Linked DNA regions of Homo sapiens: regions 1, 2, 3 and 5 are each linked to region 4. Evidence: promoter capture Hi-C in human tissues and cell types (Jung and others, 2019). All regions are on one chromosome and are shown on one strand. The core of a region is centred on a gene start or on the middle of the fragment in contact, and the rest is flanking DNA. Distances in the headings are between cores, read along the strand shown. Region 1 overlaps ENOX1 (ecto-NOX disulfide-thiol exchanger 1). Region 2 has its middle 74 kb from the start of LINC00400. Region 3 overlaps ENOX1 (ecto-NOX disulfide-thiol exchanger 1). Region 4 holds the start of ENOX1 (ecto-NOX disulfide-thiol exchanger 1). Region 5 overlaps ENOX1 (ecto-NOX disulfide-thiol exchanger 1).

The links. Contacts are between HindIII fragments. The study calls those that stand out against the background at their distance.
Region 1: a contact is called between a fragment that was not itself captured here and the fragment with the promoter of ENOX1 in region 4, in 3 of the 25 tissues and cell types used here (dorsolateral prefrontal cortex, heart left ventricle and mesenchymal stem cells).
Region 2: a contact is called between a fragment that was not itself captured here and the fragment with the promoter of ENOX1 in region 4, in 3 of the 25 tissues and cell types used here (IMR-90 fibroblasts, lymphoblastoid cells and mesenchymal stem cells).
Region 3: a contact is called between a fragment that was not itself captured here and the fragment with the promoter of ENOX1 in region 4, in 4 of the 25 tissues and cell types used here (IMR-90 fibroblasts, aorta, mesenchymal stem cells and 1 more).
Region 5: a fragment that was not itself captured here is called in contact with the fragment with the promoter of ENOX1 in region 4 in 3 of the 25 tissues and cell types used here (dorsolateral prefrontal cortex, heart right ventricle and mesendoderm cells).

Annotation. Positions count from the first base shown.
Region 1 is chr13:43,211,151-43,214,960 of GRCh38, forward strand. ENOX1 (ecto-NOX disulfide-thiol exchanger 1) reads right to left here. Exons shown (of 17, transcript NM_001347969.2): 17 at 1,980-2,971. The coding sequence ends at 2,840. Among named protein-coding and RNA genes, the nearest start is that of LINC00400, 100 kb to the left of the region's middle. The HindIII fragment of the contact is 4,030 bases long and covers 243-3,810 here.
Region 2 is chr13:43,185,041-43,188,789 of GRCh38, forward strand. No RefSeq gene overlaps it. Among named protein-coding and RNA genes, the nearest start is that of LINC00400, 74 kb to the left of the region's middle. The HindIII fragment of the contact is 4,181 bases long and covers 1-3,749 here.
Region 3 is chr13:43,262,424-43,266,477 of GRCh38, forward strand. ENOX1 (ecto-NOX disulfide-thiol exchanger 1) reads right to left here. Exons shown (of 17, transcript NM_001347969.2): 14 at 2,975-3,031. Among named protein-coding and RNA genes, the nearest start is that of LINC00400, 150 kb to the left of the region's middle. The HindIII fragment of the contact is 6,675 bases long and covers 1-4,054 here.
Region 4 is chr13:43,785,381-43,789,110 of GRCh38, forward strand. It overlaps ENOX1 (ecto-NOX disulfide-thiol exchanger 1), which reads right to left and starts at 1,592. Exons shown (of 17, transcript NM_001347969.2): 1 at 1,272-1,592. The HindIII fragment of the contact is 9,406 bases long and covers 1-3,730 here.
Region 5 is chr13:43,232,465-43,236,303 of GRCh38, forward strand. All of the region lies in intron 15 of ENOX1 (ecto-NOX disulfide-thiol exchanger 1), which reads right to left. Among named protein-coding and RNA genes, the nearest start is that of LINC00400, 120 kb to the left of the region's middle. The HindIII fragment of the contact is 4,042 bases long and covers 296-3,839 here.

The DNA of each region.
Region 1 (3,810 bases), core at 1,008-3,507, 570 kb before region 4:
CATAGGCACAGATGTTAGTTCCTTCCCCAGGTGATCTCCAAAGTCCCATCTAAACTTGAGAGTCTGTGAAATAATTTAGAGGATTTAAAAAAATCCAAAGATAAATGATTCACATAATTGAAGTTAAAATATATAACCAACATATTTCTAGACAAGTAACAGAATTCATTTCAAGTATAAATAAAAAATTTACAGCCAAAACAGATTTTTCTAGTGCAGCAGCTTATCTCCAGCAATGACTCTAATGTTTTTGGAAGCTGAATTAACCATTTCACTCCCCCAAGTTGCCCCGTAGGGCTCATATCCACGTGTTTGGAAATGATATCTTCTTGTCAGATCTAATATGAGGTCCCTCAGCTTTGTGTGAGCACAGAGCTCAGAGTTGGGGGTTTACCCTGTGCAGGATGTCTTTCTGCTAATGTGACTGCCAGTAATACTTGAAAGTATCAATGCATGTTTGAGGATATCCACCATGCTTTCCATTAGAAATAGCACAGGCTGTGGTACCTTCCCCTGTATCCTTACTAGACTTCATGACTTTATAGAACTAGCCACTTTACTGAATTCTTTTTTCCTTGTTGTTTTTCACGTGAACTGCTTAGGTTTTCTATTTTACAATACTAGCATCATCTGTAAATGATGTCTTCTCCTTTCTGACTGTTGTGTCTTTATTTGTGTCTCTTGATTTGGATATAAATCTGTCAGGATGATGGTGGTAGCAGGCATGGACTGATGGTAAGGGAAGGTGTGTAGGGTTTAATATGATATGGACATATAGTTTGAATGCCATAGCACCTGTCATATCTTTCTTGTTACCAGAATCACATCATATAGAAATTTTTGGGAAAATGCCTTTTTCTTTTTTCTTTTCTTTCTTTCTTTTTTTTTTTTTTTTAAGACGGAGTCTTGGCTCTGTCACCCAGGCTGGAGTGCAGTGGCGCAATCTCAGTTCACTGCAACCTCCACCTCCTGGATTCAAGTGATTCTCCTGCCCTAGTAGCTGGGACTACAGGTGCCTGCCACCACGCCCAGCTACTTTTTTTTTTTTTTTGTATTTTTAATAGAGATGGGGTTTCACCATGCTGGCCAGGCTGGTCTCGAACTCCTGACCTCAAGTGATCTGCCCGCCTCGACCTCCCAAAGTGCTGGGATTACAGGCATGAGCCACCGCGCTGGGCCGAAAATGTCTTTTTCACACTGAACTCTGAGCACATTAAGGAGAGGGTCTTTTCTTACTTACCTTTATATTCATAGTGTTAGCCCTGAGCCTGAACAAAACACTTGTGTAGATATTTATGGGAGGTATGAGTAAATATCTTAATTTATTAGAGATCAGTAAAGGTACTTATCAATAAAGGTATCAATAAAGGACAAAAAGTCCAATAAGAAATTATGAATATCTTTTCATAATATCAGAGAACATTAACTGTTTAGCTGTCTTCCTAAAAAATGTTTCAATTACAATTAAGGATGCTTGTCTTTTTTGTGATTCTTATGTAGGATAGCAGGAAGGGGACAAAATTTTAAGTCATATCCCATTTGTTATTAAAATAAAGAGGGGAAGCCCAAATTCTATCTAAATTGTTGGTCCAAGTGTGGATCCCTTAATTTCCTTTCTAATGTGTTTTCCAGTAAACATACAGATACATAAATGCAAGAGTTAATAAGATTAATGGGCTACTTTGTATCTGCCCAGGAGGACACAAAACAAGGTAAAATTTATTATTTGTGGATGCTATGTCATACTATTTTTAAAAATCTACTCTAACACTGTATATTAATGCTGTATAATCTCCTTTCTTGGTAATTTCCACTCCACAATTTTTATATATTCCTATTTGAAATAATGTTTTATCTCTTAATGTCACTCATTTATTTTATCATTTTTAAACAATAGGATATGAGATGGGACTGAATAATGAGAAAAAGATTTCTTAAGGGAGAAATAAAATATATCAAAGAATAATTTGTAAAACCAATATGGTAGAAGTCATATTTATTGAAAAAAATTAATATCTTTGCTATAAAATTTGTAACAGGAATATTTACTGAATGTTTATTTTGATGCATAAACCTGAATGTTACATACCAAGTACAAGACAATAACACTAGTTTTTCCTTTATTTACACTTTATGAAAACTGTTATGCAGTCCATGTTAAAAGAACTTATGATGGAGAATTGTTACATTAGAAAAATAATATTCTTGATAAAGCATTCTCAATGTGTCCAATCATATTTTCTGCCTCTTCAATAAGGCAAAAGTCCCTGGAACAGCATATAACTTAATTTACAAAATACAATAACTGTTTAGACACATATTCAAGTTTTCTTTTGGTATGCTTTTCCCTCACTGTAAAACTTTTTCTTTTTTCTTTTTTTCTTTTTCTTTTTCTTTTTTTTTTTTTTTTTTTTTTTACTAAAACAGAAAGACTTTCAGGAAAATGTCATTTAATGATTTCAGCTATACATTACATATACAACTCTGTAGCCTAGCAACAATCATTGCTACACCATCATTAACTTTAAATATTTTGCTTGGTGAGCTATTCTCAAATGTAGCACATTTTAAGATTTTGCCATCATTATGACTGTGGAATCATTGTTTGGTTTTCATAGGAAACAGATCTGTCACAGTATGAAGCTTTGTTTATTTTAAGAAACTGGTACACAATTACATTTCCACTTACAAGAGAACGCCACAGATATAACTAAAGGCAGGCTTCGATGGCTCCACAAAGGTTGCGTGCTGGACCAACCCCACACCTCCTGCTTCCCCGTCGCACCGCCCTGGCCAGGTTCACATGGTTTCATTTCCAGAGATGCTTTGCTCTTCGCAGTTAGGTAGTTTTAATTCCTTCAAAGGCACACAGCTTCCATCTTTTTTCCAGCGTGGCTCCCACACCCGTGAATTCCTGTTTGAACATGCGTGGCAGCCTCATCAAAAGCATTTCTATTTCATTTGCAGATATCTGTTAGAAAGGAAGGAAAGTCACTTTGGGGAAAGGAACTCATCTTAAAGGAGGAATGGATTGGGGAAGGATGAGCTTTCCCAGTGATATGAACAGCATTTAGTTTTCTACTGGGCTGTCAGGGGGATGTCCTTATAGAAGGAACATTCAGAAGTACTGAATGTGATTATCCCACCTCCCGAGCAGCTGGCGGGGTGGGGCGTGGGTTGGCTGGGCGGAAAGTGCCAAGTTCACCCTTCATATGGATGGCTACCTTACTGGCAGCACCATTCCTGAACAGCCCTCCCCTGATATAAAAGGAGATGGGGAGGGAATTTAAGAGGGCTCCCAGCAAATCCATCACCACTCCTGGAAAGCTACTAGTGGCTTCATCCTCATCTATGAAGGACAGCAATTTTCTTTAATGCTGCCAGGAGCAGAAGACATTCGGGTGGATTTCTTGCCACCCAAATTTCTTTCTCTTCCTTAATTTTCACATAGACCAGAGACCATAAAGCTTTTGGAATGGAATCTAAACTCCAAAACCTACAACAATACAAGTCTTGATATCTAGTCATAAAATTCAGGTATATTTTTTAATGCAACTTTTTTCTTCTCCATATTTTTATTTGATGAATTTTTACACCAATAATTCATTTTAAAGAACAAATCAGCCATAATCCCTCTGCTCTAGCACAGTGATTGCTTTTGTTGTCCTGTGTTAGCATGCCAATCCATGTGTATGCATGTGGATTTTATACAGCAGGGCGGCCAATTTGGGGTCTGATATTCTGTTTGAATATCCCCAAAATTTGGGGTCTGATACTCTGTTTGAATCCTGTATCTTCATTCTCACAAGT
Region 2 (3,749 bases), core at 416-2,915, 600 kb before region 4:
TTTATATTTTCTGGTTCTAACTCTTGTCAGAACTTCTTGTTAATTTATTGAACATATCTAGCTGTGTCTTACAGCTACAGTATCTGGATTGTTTTTGTTGTCGCTGCTCTGTTTCTGTTTCTTTTTCTCTCTTTTTTTTCTCTTTAGCCTTGCTTTTTTGTATACCTATTTATTCTTTATTGAACTCTTCAGATATTTTTCATGAAAAATGGCAGAGATAATTTGTGGCTCTGGATTATGCTATCCCCTCCAGAGAGGATTTACTTTGTTTCTGGCAGGCATTTAGGCAAGGAAGTTGATGACCTTAATCCAATCAAGCTTGACTTAAGTGTGAGGTGTGGTCTGTTGCTGGTTCACCCACGCATTTTAGGCCTCCAATCCTGAAAGCCCAGGGTGCTTACCAGGGCCCCTTCTTCTTAGTGATTTCCAAGTTTTGACTGTTAAATCTGGAGCTGTTAAAAGCCCTTCTCTGTTTCTCAGACTCTTAGCTGCCACCTTGACTTTGAACATCAGTAACAGCTGTAAGTATCAACGTGACTCTGAATTGTGGGTTTACATTTTTTTGGTTTTCTCCTCTTCCATATCTTTGCCTCACAAGTCTTACTTTCTTGATAGGTCTCATGTCTTTAAAAATATTTTTAAAATATATATTATCCTGCTTCTCTGGTTATTCTCAGCCAGAAGGCTTCTTTGAAACTATCTAGTTGGCCGATGCTGGAAACAGAAGTCTACCCACGAATTTGTTAAGAATCATTTCTTTCAAGGATATGGTAAAGCAAGCATTCTTACACATGGCTGATTAGAGTATAATCTAGTTCACCTCTCTAAAAAGCAGTGTTTCAGTTAGCCCATGGCCTTAAACACATTATACCCTTTGACTCAGCCATTCTAATTCTGTGAGCAAATCAGAAATAAATTATTAGAGAGGCAGAAAATATATTTACATACAAGGATATTCACTAAAACTCTTAATAGAGAAAACTGGATGTCAACTAAATATTCAATGATAAGGATGATAATTATGGTACATCTATGAGATAGAATAGTCTGTGGTGATTCAAAATCATGTATTGAAAAATATTTATTGATATAGAAGAATAAGATATAAAGAGGAAAATGATACATACTTTTCATGTAGCATGATTCCAATTTTTAAAAAAGTTACATGTTTAGGGAAAATGCTGGAAAGATACAAACCAATTTTTAATGAACTTAATGTTAGATGGTGAGATTAAGGGTTTTTAAACATTTTCTTCTTTATATATTTTTGTATTTTCAAAGGTTTTTAATATTGAGTGTGTACTATTTTTATAATGAAGAAAAAGTCACAAAAAAACCCTAAACTCACTTTTAATCTGGCAGATTATATTCCATTCTTTTAATACAGACTTTAGCAAGCTAGAAATTCTTTACATTTTTAAAGTCTTAGAAATTAAGACAAAGACACTTGCAGAAAACCACATGGGATGTTGCTGGAGAGATGACAGTGAGCATCTTCATCATGCTCCAGGGAGCAGTTGGCTGCATGACTCTAGTTGTTGTTTCAATAGTTGACAGAGGTTTCAGCCTTTGTAGACTTGGTGGTCTTCAGACTCTTACTGATTGAAAAAATACTTCTCTACAAAAGTACAACAGATTTTGGAGTCTTTTTCATTGTGAAAGTCATATATCCAACCAGATTTTATTAGCTACAGTTTTTGTTTTCAAAACCTCTGGGTGTTATTAGGGAAATTCTCTTCTTGAAATTCAAAATTGATTTTCCAGCTGGACGCAGTGGCTCATGCCTGTAATCCCAGCACTTTGGGAAGCTGAGGCGGACGGATCACTTGAGGCCAAGAGTTTGAGACCAGCCTGGCTAACATGGTGAAATCCCATCTCTACCAAAACATTAGCTAGGCATGGAGGTGTGTGCCTGTGGTCCCAGCTACTTGGGAGGCGGAGGCAAGAGAATTGCTCGAACCTGGGAGGCGGAGGTTGCAGTGAGCCAAGATTGCGCTGCTGCACTCCAGCCTGGGTGACAAAGTGAGACTTTGTCTCCAAAAAGGAAAAAAAAAAACCAAAAAACAAAACGCTTCAAATCCATTTTCATAAGAACCAATTTTTCCCACTGTTCTTTACAGAACAGGTCATTTATGAAGGGATCTTATCTTGGAAGAGGGAGGGTAAGAAGAGACAGTTTGGTTATTTGACTGATTACATAGCAACTCCATATGGGATGTTTTATTTCACATTCTTGAGTTAATCCTTAACTAATTTCTCATATCTGACCTCTGTTTTCTTTGAAATGTTGGTGAACATGTCAAACATTCTTCCCACCCACCTCGACACTTTACTTTCTTCCCCAGCTTGGTTTCAGATAACTGGCAACCTTATGATGTTTATTGCTTCAGATATGGACAGTTTAGGAACTATCCAAAGTTTCTCATTGCTCATCTGTAATAATACTTTTCATGATGGCACTAGAATCCTAAATTCTGGTCTGATTCAGGAAGATGGTCTATTTTCATATTTAAATTGGCCTGAAAAAAGTAAGGCCTTGTTGATACAGGTAGGGGTCCACTACCCTGAAATGTTGCTCAAAAGCACATTTCAATTTTATTCAAAAGCTGCTTTGATGTGTATTCCCCCAAAGCACCTTAGCTGAAAATCAAATTTTATTTTAGAGCTTTGTACAGACCAATGTCTCTTTCTAGCTTCCTGTACACCAATAAAATTGTGTATTTCAATTTAACCTCAATCTGCCTGTGTTTAAAATATAAAGCTAAGGTTAAGGGCTTTCACTGCTAGCAACCCTACCTGGACATCTCTATTTCTAGATAAAACCTTTTACTGAGAACATTTTATTAGTCCTGCAGCTCAACGCTGCCATATATGCCAGCCTGTCCTATTAATCCTTAGCTACAAAAATATCAGAATCATTTATGAGCTAAAGTTTTTTTTTTTTTTTTAGCTTTTTAATTTTCTGAGCCTTTGTGGTATTATTTGGGTCAGTTTGGTTGCTGGGGCTCCACCTCTTCCCACCTGCCCCCAACCCAGTGTCTCTGAGTTGGGGAGAAGAGTCTCAGGACCATGGGGACCAAGAGGCTTTAGGGCTGACCACCTACTGTAACTGGCTGTCTCATGCTGGCCCCTTGGCCTGATTTGGGATGCGAGATGCCCCATCACTTTCCTTTTGTGTTGTTCCTCAAGTCCTGGAATCCCACAGTAGCTCACCTTGTTTTTACCACCCTTTTCTCTTCTTTGGGGCCTACTGCACTATTTCCAAATTTTATAGTGTGTTTAGTGGGAAGAGCTGGGAGAAATGGCTCTGCACCATTTTGTATAGACTAGCTCTTTTTAGCTATATAAAAGGTTTCTTCTATTCAGACTTCTCCTCTTGTTCATAAAATGACACTCTACCTTCAGAGACCACATGTGATTTTAATGCCAGGATTCCAAGGCTTGTTCTCTGTCATATACAAAAACAATGATTAGGTTGAAGTGGTACAGAACCTTGAAATACTCTCTGGACCAGTTCTCCAGCTGAGACTCAGGATCACCTAGGACCCAGTTCCAGACATCATACTCATACTTCAATGTCATACTCAAATGAGCTTGGCAGAAATGCATAAATGTGTTAGAATTAGGGCCTGAGGAACCACTGTCATGCTTCTTTCTGCCCTTTCATGGTTAACAAAAACAGACTGACTGCTGAGCCAGGGATCTTTGTTTCTTGGAAGATTTTGCCTCACCTAACAGAAGCTTAGGTG
Region 3 (4,054 bases), core at 1,032-3,531, 520 kb before region 4:
AAAATAATTTATTTGTCTCAGACAATAGCCTTTGGTCCAGAGGCTTTAAACCTTGTGTTCTGCCTTAAAATTCATCCTGCCAAAAGTCCTGTCTGCTATATTAAATACTTTGTTATTTGTTGAGACAGGGTCTCGCTCTGTCACCTACGTTGGAGTGCAGTGGTGTGATCTCGGCTCACTGCAACCTCTGCCTCCTGGGCTCAAGTGATCCTCCTGCTTCAGCCTCCCAAGTAGCTGGGACTACAGGTGCGCCATGTTGCCCAGTCTGGTCTTGAACTCCTAGGCTCAAGAGATCCGCCCACCTCGGCCTCCCAAAGTGCTGGGAATACAGACATGAACCTCCACACCCAGCCTATATTAAATACTATTGATGCATGAAGAGAGAATTAATACTTGTTGAGTATGTACTCTAGGCTTGGTGTTAATGTACATGGTTTCATTTAACACACAAATGAGGAAGGTGAAGTTCAGAAATAATTTGTCTCAGTCACATGGCTACTCAGTGATCAAAATGGATTCAAACCCTCTCAGTCGGGTCTGAAGGCCTCGTCTCTTTTGACCACCACAAGGCTGGTGGCAACTTCAGATGAGACGTAGACTTCATTTCAGACATTTAAGAATAGATTTGCAAAATATTGCCAGTGCTCCTAATGTGAGGGCAAAATAATTGATGATTAATTCTTTTCTTTCACATACCCTAGTGGAGGTACTGGGGAAACTTCCAAAAGGAGACAAAGTTCAGACAGAAAAGAGGGTGAGTAAGTAATCCACCACCTGGGAAACCCCTGATAAAACAGGCAGTGATTGTAAAGATTAGCCCAGCCCTCTGCCTAGGGAGGGAGGTGGCCACCCGCAGTGACTGGCAAGGACTGTCAGGTTCTGTTACTTCACAAATATCTCCCCCACCCCCTAGGTCAAGGTGCTGCTCTTCCTTCCTACTGAGCCAGAACCCCATCTCTCAACAGTCATTGCTTTGAGTTGATAACAAAGCCTACGTCATAGACTCTAGACAGGTATCTTAAAAAAGCTGAAAACTTTCCTGTAGAAGGGACAAAGACCTCGAAGATTATCTCACTTTACTTTTTCCATTGAATAATAAGTGACTTTTAAAATTTTTCAAAAAGGGCCTATGGGCTAGATACTGTGTTAGGCCTGTCTATACATGTATCATCTAATTCAATCAGCAGATCAATTTATAATCAAAACATCTTAGCTAGAACCTCACAATTACAAGTACTTCCACATACATTCTCTCATTTGCTTCTCACAATAAGCCTTAAGGAAGGCAAGGTAGGAGTTATCCCCATTTTACAAACCAGGAAACTGAGGCCTACTGCCACTTTGTCTGGCTTATTGGAACAGACAGCAGCTTCCCTGGAAGCCACAGAGGGACTGGCTGTGTGTGGAGTGGATATGAAGGTTTTGGTTGAGAATGTGGCAGCCTTGTGTCCCTGGAAGACAGGGTGCTGAAGAAGGGTTTTAGGGTAAGGATGAGGGTCATGAATATGAGAGTGGAAAGATAAACTATGTCTCACAACATTGCCTATGGGGAGCTCTGTATGAATGGCTTCCTCCTTTGGCTTTCTACTTTCTCAATCCTATTCACTCCCCAAAACCAAACCCAAGTCCCACAGATCCAGGAAACCTTTCTTGATTATCTAGCACAAAGAAACCATACGTGTAACACCTTAAGGTTTTCCCAGGCCTTAGCTCATTACAATATTATGACATGCTTTTGAGATAGGCTTTGCCATTCTTTTTACAAGTGAGAAAAAGGAAGCTCAGAGAGGTTAAGTAACTTGTCAGGCTGATACATTTAATAAGCAGCAAAGTCTGGATTTCAAACTACATCACATCATAGCTGCCTCAACTTCCTGTACACTTATCATGTCCTGTATCTTGTCATGTGTTTCTTAATTCCTTAACTCAGTTGTAAGTTCCCCGAGGGCAGACAACTAGTCTTATATTTCTTTGTAACCCCCATTTCTGTTCCCCTAGAACTTAGCAGAGTCCTATGAGCACACAAGTCCTCAATAAACATCATATGTTAAATATCTGCTGGGTAGGAACAATAATGATTAAGTGGGATTTTTTTGATACTCTGAATATTAGGCTCTCTGTTGTATATAATTAAAACAAGAGTGAACAAGAAATATATAATTTCTCCTAGCTCTAGTGTAATCAGGCATTCATTATCATGTCTAATTCTGTGTTCAGTGAAAAGAACTGCTTAGTAAGCATTTTCTTTGATGAGGATAATCAAATACAGATATCAGAGAGATTTAAAAAAGACAAAATCATCAAACATATGGAGAGGCAATGATCTACAGGGTATAATATTCCATCTGAGACTAAAGAACTTTCAAGGCAAAAAGAACACTTGTTTACTTTTTGACAATTGGATATTCAAGGAACACTAAGAGAGGAAGTCACGGTGTAACTGGGATCTTGTACCATCACACATTATTCTTTATCAAGAAGATGGATGCACTGTGCTACTGTTCTGGGTGAGGAACAGAGAAGGAGTACATTTCAAGGGCTATTCTGAGAGAAGGGGTTTTCTCTGAGACCTTTTCAGCATGTCAGTCATTTAGGTACCACCTTCGCTGGCAGGCAAACTTAATGAATATACATGCAATGCGCAACTGATTACCCTGTCGGGTCTCTTGCTATTTCCCTCCCAGTATATCATCAGTTATAGTTTTGGAAATACAAAGAGCTCAAACAGACTCACTGAAATTAGAATTTTTGATGGTGGGGATTAGCTCACATACTTCTAAATTGACATTTGATAAACTAGGCTGACAATAGCAGTGCCTGTCAATCACATTTTCTTGCCAAACCCATATATTAATCTTAAGCTGCTGACAGGCAGAGCTTCTGATTTCCTTTATGTGGTAGATAAAGTGCTACATCCCCATGTGTTCAACCAACGTCAAGCAAGAAGAACAAATACCAGGTTTGTGGTACCTACATTTGAATCCTCATGGCTGTGGCCATTGGTCTCGACCAATTCCTTGGTACCTTTTAACTGCAAATTTTAAGGAAAAACAACACAAAACAAAAAAATGAATAAGCAAGCAAATCTCTTAAGTATATCATCTTGTTAACTGATTTATCTGAGGTTGCATTTTATAAAACTTCCAATGAGATAAAACAGATGGAGCACATATTTCTAATGAGCCTTATTGGAGCCAGTTTGAGACCAATATTTTATGAAGTTTGATGCCTGGCAAAAGAATAAATGGGTCTTGGTCATTATTTTTTAAATAATAAGATTAGAAAGCAGTTCCATAGGCATAAAATGTATAAAATTGGTTCTTAAGAATAATAAATGATTTCATTTCCTAGTTGGATTGCTATTAATTTAAACCCTGCAGTGTTTGCAAGTTGCCACCAGCAAAATGATGTTATATTAACGATTATTCGTGAATGATGCATTTTCAGCTGCTTTTAACATGCTACTGTGCTACCAGACAGGTCCTCCTTGAGAATATATTTGAATGACTGACATCTCTGGAGGACTAAAGACGGTTGCTTCTTTGGTAGAGAAAGAGTTTGGATGACATCTCCTTGGCCGCTGAGGCATTAGAAGAAATTATATTTCTCTAATGAGATTTTTAGCAGTGAACATTTGAAAACATTTCTCTTTCTCAGAGGCTTAGGAGTAATCAGTTATAAGGAGGTTTCAGGAAACCTTTAATTGTCATTTTATCCTATCCTGACGCAAAACAGACATTTAGAATCAGACGGCAAAGGAAGAGGGTGAGCTGGCTTGCAACTGTTTTGCCAGTATTTTTTCCTGACTTAGGAAAGCAGCATCTCCTCCATTATCTTTTTTATACCTAATACAAAGTATTCATGGTAGGAAAAAATACTTAAGATTTGAAAGAAAATCAATGCACATATACCACCAATGTGTTTGATTCATAACATTGGTTCCTTCTGGCTACTTGTGCATATTAAAATGAAAGCTTCTTTAGTTTTTTAAGGCCAGTCTTAAACTCCCAGCAAAAAAAAGCCCTACCCGCTCCATGCCAAAGAAGGGGTTTTG
Region 4 (3,730 bases), core at 342-2,841:
TCAGATCCCTTAAGCACGCTTCATTGCTTTCTCCAAACTACCAGACTCAAATCTGCAGCCCAGTTGGCCAGGAACCTTTCCATACGCACGTATTTCCTGCATTCTCCTGGGTCTGCTTTTAAAAATTGCTACCACCAAACAAATGCAATCTTAACAAAATTGGGATTACAAAGCCAGTTTTTTTCATGTAATGTTACAGCAGTGAAAGATTGAGGGAGAGAAAAGGAGAGAAGCAGGAGTGTATCTGGGTGAAGAAGCGTGGCTCAGTGGCTATACAGTGAGACGCAGAGATTCCACAGAGCTGGGCTTGCCCACCTGTCGACCCCACTTTCCCCATGTGCTCGCCGCGGGATGACAACCACAACACTCCAGAACCACCCCCCTTCCGAAAGAGGGCGGGGTTACGCCTTCAGCCAATCAGGACCCGCGAGCCCCGGGTGTCCAACCTATGGGGTGGCTGTGGCCGTGCAGGGGGAGGACGTGGGGTGGTCTGGGAGGGGCCGCGTCCGTGGGAGGCTCGCACGTGTCGGGTCCGGAGAGGCGGGGAGGCGGCCGGCGTCCAGCGGCCGAGGCGCGGGCTCTGCACCCTGGCAGCGGCCGAGTCCGGCTGCCCCAGTGCCTCCTTTACCTCGCGTTGGGCCAGGCAGGGCGCGCTCCCGCCGACGAAGACCTGTCCAAGGTGTCCGAGCTCCCCGCGAGAGGGGACAGTCACGAATAACAACAGTACCCAGCGCAGACTAGGCGGGGAGGAAAGTTTCCGGCCCGCAGCAGAGCGGAGTCCGCCAAGGCTGGAGGAAAAGGGATGCAGAGCGGGAGGGTGAAAACCTGAAAGAAGAGGGCAGCGGGAACACTGTGTGGGCAGGAACGGGTCCCGGGGGCGACGCCCGCAGGGGGAGACGGGTGCGGGGTGCGCTGTCCAAGGTGCAGGGGAGGTGACTGGCGCGCGGCGGGCGCGGAGCCCGGAGCTGACACTGGCTGGCGGGCGGAGGGGAGAGCGGGGAACAGCTGTCTGGGGCGCTGGGCACCCCCGGGCGCGTAAAAGTGAGGGAGCTTGAGACGGGGCACGGCGGGGAAGGGCGTGGGGGCTGCACCGAAGCCCCCACGCGTCCACGCACCCCTCCTCACCAGCCTCACCTCTAGCTCCACTCCCCTCCCCCCTCGCCCACTCCCCTCTCAGTCTAGATCCAGGTGCCGTGGCGGGGGTGAGACCAGAGGACCCCGGCTCGGAGCCCGGACGCCCCAGGGAGGCTGCGGGCCCCGGAGCTGCTTACCTGGGGCCGCCGTATGGGGAGCGGAGGCAACCCGCTGCGCGGAGTGGGGCGCCGGGCGCGGCGCGGCTCCTCCTAGCCTCGGCGTCCTCCTCCTCCTTTGCTTCTCCCGGACTCTGTCCCGGGCACGGAGCTGGGAGACGCGGCCGGGCTGCAGTCGCCGTTCCCTCTGCTGCCGCCGCCGCTGCAGCAGACAGAGGACGCCCCGTGGCGGCTGGAAGCCTGTGTGAGTAGCGGCGCCCGGGAGAGCGGGGATCTGCTGAGGGGCGCTGGAGACTCCGCGGCTGGAGGCGCGCGGGCGTGCGCACGCGCGCCTGCGAGTGTGAGTGTATGGGTGCGCGCGCGCCCACGGGGTGGGGGAGTCGCGAGGGGAGGGGGAGAGAGGCCGAGAGATGCTCGTAGGGACCGAGGCAAAATTCTACGACCCCGGAAATCCGTAAACGCGGGGAAGGAGGATCGAACGCGTGTCTCGCTTGGAGAAGCTGCCCACGGGGCGGCAGCAGAGGAGGAGGGGAAGTCAGCGAGGCGCGCTAGGGCTCCGGATCCCAGCCCGGCAGAGCCGAGCGGAGCGCGCAGCCACCGATGCAGCAGAGGCGGCGCCCGCAGCCCACGGTCGCGCTGCCCCCTCTCGGGAGGGGCCGAGGCCGCTCGCTCCCGCCACCGCCGCCGCGGTCGGGACTGCTCTACTGGGAGCGGGGGAACCGAGAGAGGGACCGCACGGTTGCTACGGCGACCTTGGAGGGGCCGGGCCCGCTGAAGGGCCAAGAGAAGAACCCGGGCGCACGTGGCCGACTCCAGGCTGGAGCGGGCGTGTTACAGGATTGTGGGCTTGGGGTAGACGGTGGAATTGGGCCGCGTGGCCTGGGCAGATGATGCGGGGTGTGCGGCCCAGAGTGGCTCGGCCGGGGTGCGGTCAGCATTCAGGTTGGTAAGGGTGAGGGGATCCTAACCCCAGGTGACATGTTGCCTTTTTTTCCTCCTTGGAGGCTACTTTTTCTCAAAGTTACCCACTTCCCAGGTAAGAATGCCGGCCTCCTCTTTGTTAGGATTCAACTTAGCTGTGCAGGCATCTAAGCAGTGCCTCCTTAGAGTCAGGCTCGTCCAAGAACCGCTCCCACCACCTCCCCACACACACCCACATCCCCCGATCCTCCATCCCAACTACATTGTAATACTTCAGAAATAAATGTTTAAAGCACATTTACATTCTCTGCCTCTTAACAGATATATTGTCTTAGTAGTATACTTTTCCTTGCTTATTTTAAATTCTGAGTGGGATTTTATTCACACAAGCATTTCTTCAAGGGTCGTAAGGTCTGGGTAATACTTGAAATACCCTTTCTGGCAGGAATCCTCAATGCAGGGATTGTGTTTTGCACACTTTTGCATGCCTTCCAGTGCTTAGCATAGTACTCTGTACTTTGTGAGTTCCCTGTAAATGTTGAATGAATGACATTGTTTTCTAGCTTCACGTAACCTGAAGGCAAAGACTTGGATGCTGGGAAAGTCATTACCACCCCACTAGGCTTGCCTGATTTTAACTTATGCCATTTCCTTGTGTGTGGCTATTTTTCCCCCTGGCGGTCAGAACCCCAATGCAAAGAAAGAAAATAATACTTATCCATTGTGCACCCTTAACAAAGGATGCATGTAGAAGCACTCTGCAGGGACCCCAGTGGGATGCCCTGGGTGTGAGGGGGCCAAAGCTCAGAACCTAACCTCTCAAAATGTGAAAGTCAGTGTTCACCAGCAGTTTATACTGTCCCTTCTAGAGCAGAAGGATGGGGAAAACAGTTTTAAGAGAAATACACTTTTGTTTTTTGTTTTTTGAGACGGAACCTCGCTCTGTCACCCAGGCTGGAGTGCAGTGGCGCGATCTCGGCTCACTGCAACCTCTGCCTCCCGGGTTCAAGCGAATTCTCCTGCCTCAGCCTCCTAGTAGCTAGGATTACAGGCGCCGGCCACCACGCTCGGCTAATTTTTTTTTTTTTTTTTTTTTTTTTTTTTTTTTAGTTTTTAGTTTTTAGTAGAGACACAGTTTCACCATGTTTTCCAGACTGGTCTCCAACTCCTGACCTCAAGTGATCCGCCTGCCTCGGCCTCCCAAAGTGCTGGGATTACAGGCATGAGCCACCGCTCCAGGCCAGAAATACACATTTCTAATAGCTTATCAGGTACGCATTTTTCTCCTGTAAAGAGTAGTGTTCATGGACACTGACCAATACATGCAGGGTCACCCCAGACTGCTAATTCTGCTGTCTGGTGTAGCACCAAGTCCACATCCTTCGACCTCGGTATTTCTACAATCATCGTCTTAGAAGCAGAAGTCTTCAATTTTGCATTTCATGCTAAATTTCAATTCCTTTGAACTCAGGCCCGCCTATGAGCTGCTTCTCTCTCCACTCATGATACCACAGCTGTGAAATATAACTGAAATAAAGTGAAAATTAAAATGGATTTAT
Region 5 (3,839 bases), core at 1,067-3,566, 550 kb before region 4:
CTCAACTTTATTCACTGAAATCACCAAAAATTATTGCTTAACCTTCTTTAAAAATATTTTTCCATATTCTACTCAGCTGTTTCTTTATACCCACATTAGGAGGAGCCTTCTGCTTCTGGTATAGTCTGGTTTTGTGCACGTGTGAGATGGTGACTGTGATGGAAATGATGTGTATGTCCTGATCTGCAGAGGACTCAGGATATGTAAGAAAGTTTGCCCAATCATTGTCAACCTGAGGACAGTTCTCAGGGGACCAGGGAGGTTTTAGAGAAAAGCTGCTTTGTTACAGTTAAAAGTTGTGGAGAAGTTTTTGACTACATCTGGATAGTATTTACAATGACTAGCATCAACAGGGCGTCAATCAGAGCTGCTGGGATTGAAATCTATTGTGTTGGAATTATTATAAAAAGCAAGAGAATATAGAGTGATACGGACCCAGAGAGTTATACTCTCAGCTCTCTGCAGAACTATTAGCTTGTCAATAAAAAAAATTTGATCCATTTTTCCTTTATAACAATATCCAGCCAAACACAGCTCCCAAACTTTGGCCCCAAATCAAAAGTAATGACTCATTCTATCCCAAACAACTTCAGTGTATGCCAATCCAACATGCAGGCCATATGTGAAATAAACTAGTTCTGGCATAGACATTGAGCAATGTCAAGCTGACCTTATGTGTGGTTACTATAGCATTATGAAACAAAATGCTACCCTGCAATGCCCCCATAAAAACAGAATTCTCTAAGGTCCAATTATATGTCAACCTGTCTCCACAAAAATTGATTACAAAATGAATAACCCAGAAATCACAAAAATAAAGTATTTTCCAGGGGCCTGTCTTCTTTAGTTGAATTGGAAGACCCATTAATTGTCAAGAAGAAAGTCCATCAGAATGGTCGAACTCTAATAATACTCAGGATCCAGATCTGCAAAATTCCAAATTATGTCAATGAAATCCCACGGATCCTCTCTAATAAATATCAACTTTATGCCTTGAAATAAAGACTCTAGTTTTATACAATAGTCATAAGAATGTCTGGGCAGAATACACCCTTTTGCCCAGATAAATCAGTGTCACAAATAATTATATGTAACTAGAATTGCTCATTGTTTAGGAAGTTCTAGCCTCAGTTTTATTCTTTCTGTAGATGGAATCCATTTGAAGAGCTTTTTTCTCACTCCCTTTCTCTTCCAGGGAATGCTTTCTGCCAGTGTGCGTTTCTTATATAACATTTATGTGCCCCAAGAGGGCACTGATCATCTGACTATATTGGCATACAGCATACACTATAAGCATGCAGATATGATGAAGATTTTGCCAATTAATGTTTCCAAGTTGTGGGAGATTTTCTGCTGTGTCCTTGGCCTTCTAGGCTGGCCTAGAGCATGACTTTTGTGTCCTCTCTACTGACTTAATTATTCCAAGGGAAGATTTCAGGGGGAATTGCAAAGAGTATTTATGACTGCTCCAGATGTACCAGAAGGCCAGAGGGCTCCTAGAATCATTCAGTGCATGAGAATTCTTCAGAAAAGTGTAGCCCCAGCACCAGGAAATCCTTTTTCTCTATTCTGATCCAGAGCAGTTTTGTCCCTACCACAGTCTGTATCTAGATTCCAGAAGCTTCAGGGGAGCTCTTTATGGACGCAAGATTCAGGTATCTACAAAGTATGAATGACCAAACTCAATGAGTAGATAGGATCATTTAGTGGCAGGCAGAAACTGCAGCTTTTGGCAGGATCCATTTTGCTGGTCTTGGAAACTCTTTCCCATTGTGGCATTCTTTTGGAGGATTATCCTCTTTTGGAGGATTATACAAAAGAGTAGAAGTATATAGATGTTTTGGAAGTGGGTTTGGCAAGGAAATCACATCTGTTGCCAAACTGTCATTAAGAATAATAAAATAAAATATTGAGAAAGGTAGCAAGGTAATGGATAACTGAAGGGAAAGTTAAACTCCTAAGTTTATTTTAATCACTTAAGTCTCTGGCCTCCCTTCTACCTAAATGTTCTCATATATTGATTCAAAATAAGTGTCACCCCCTGTTTCTCTTTTGCTCTACTCCTAACTTCAAATGCTAATATTAGTAAACTAGTTCAAAAGACCAACAGTGAGGGGAAAAGTCTTGGAAAATTTAGAATTGGTTGTATATGCTTTTTATTGGAGATCCTGACTAATATTTTTCTTTCTAACACACTTGATTTAACTAATTTTATATAGTTTTTTGTGATACCAAAGACATCAGCAGGCATAGCATGTTATAAATGTAATCTTCCTACCTACTCCCATTAATGTACTGCATATAAAGCACATCATTTAAAAATATTTGAAGTAGCCAACTGAAAAAAGTACATGTATGTGTATACATATATAAATAAAACCTAATAACTACTTAGAAAACATTTTAAATGAACTGTGTTCTCCAATTAAAACATAAAAGAAGCAGCTATCTCTAGTGAAAGGAAGGAAATAAAAAAATAGAGACTGGTTCCCATTTTTTTAACCTTCAAGTGGACAGAATTCTTCCTACTTAAAGAGGGAAAAGTTTACTGCAGATCATTAATTGCTTTGTTCATACCCTAAAAGCATTATAGGGAAAAATCACACCTTGGTCACACTGAGTGACAGAGAAACAGTTGTCAGACTTGGACATGTTTTCCAATAGAAGAAAAATCCAGTTACCAACTACATATGGGTTCGTTTTGGGTTCCTGGAACTGATAGCACATCAGCATGTCTTCTGAGACTCATGCATGGCATGTTATTACAGCTGTATATCATCAGAGCAAAAAAAAAATAATTGGTTTTCCTGGGAGTATCTCTAAGTTGATGTCATATTCAATAACCCTGTAGTTGAAAAATCTATATATGATGGATGGACTCTGGACTGTCTTTTGAATTTAATTCCTCATGTGCCAGCTTCTCTAGGTCCTGTTGTACCTGTCATTTTTAGGTGAGCACATGCAGTATTTACAAAATGCACCCAGGGACCAGGCGCGGTGGCTCATGCCTGTAATCCCAGCACTTTGAGAGGCCAAGGCAGGTGGATCACCTGAGGTCAGGAGTTTGAGACCAGCCTGGCCAACATGGCAAAACCCCATCTCTACTAAAAATACAAAATTAGCTGGGCGTGGTGGTGTGCACCTGTAATCCCAGCCACTAGAGAGGCTGAGGCAGGAGAATCACTTGAACCCGGCAGAAGGAGGTTGCAGTGAGCCGAGATTGTGCCATTGCACTCCAGCCTGGGCAACAGAGTGAGACCCTGTCTCAAAAAAAAAAAAAAAAAAATGCAACCAGGCACTATTTCTGCCAGATAATGAACTGCTGAAGAACAGTTTGTCTTGCATGTACATTGGCCTCATTCTTCAGTCTTAACCATGCCACCATGGAGCCAGTCTCACCTGGCAACCCCACACTGGGGTCAGTGCCAAGGTGCAGCTTGAATCAGTTCTGTGCATCACAGCATGAGGGTGGTGGCTTCCCTTCCTCTGAATTTGAGGGCTTCAAAGACAGCCTTAAACATACAGGCATCTAAGATGGGCTTCCATGCACACTGCCGGCACATCCTCATCAAGAATTCTTCCTCGTGAAAATAAGTAAGACATCTGGATCCACTGAGGATGCTTCTTTTGTTCATCCTGGACAAAAGGATCCATACTTGGACAGGGAAGCCTGAAGCCGATTGTCCTGGATTAGCCTAGCATCAGTACCCTGCATGGCCCTATTTGTCAGCATTGCAGGTCTAGCCTTGGGAGTGACTTTAGGATGTGGCCTCTGCTAAGGGGCTTAGAGTTTAATCTCAGGGTTCAAAGCTGCTCTTGAGCCTGGGGATATGGCTTGG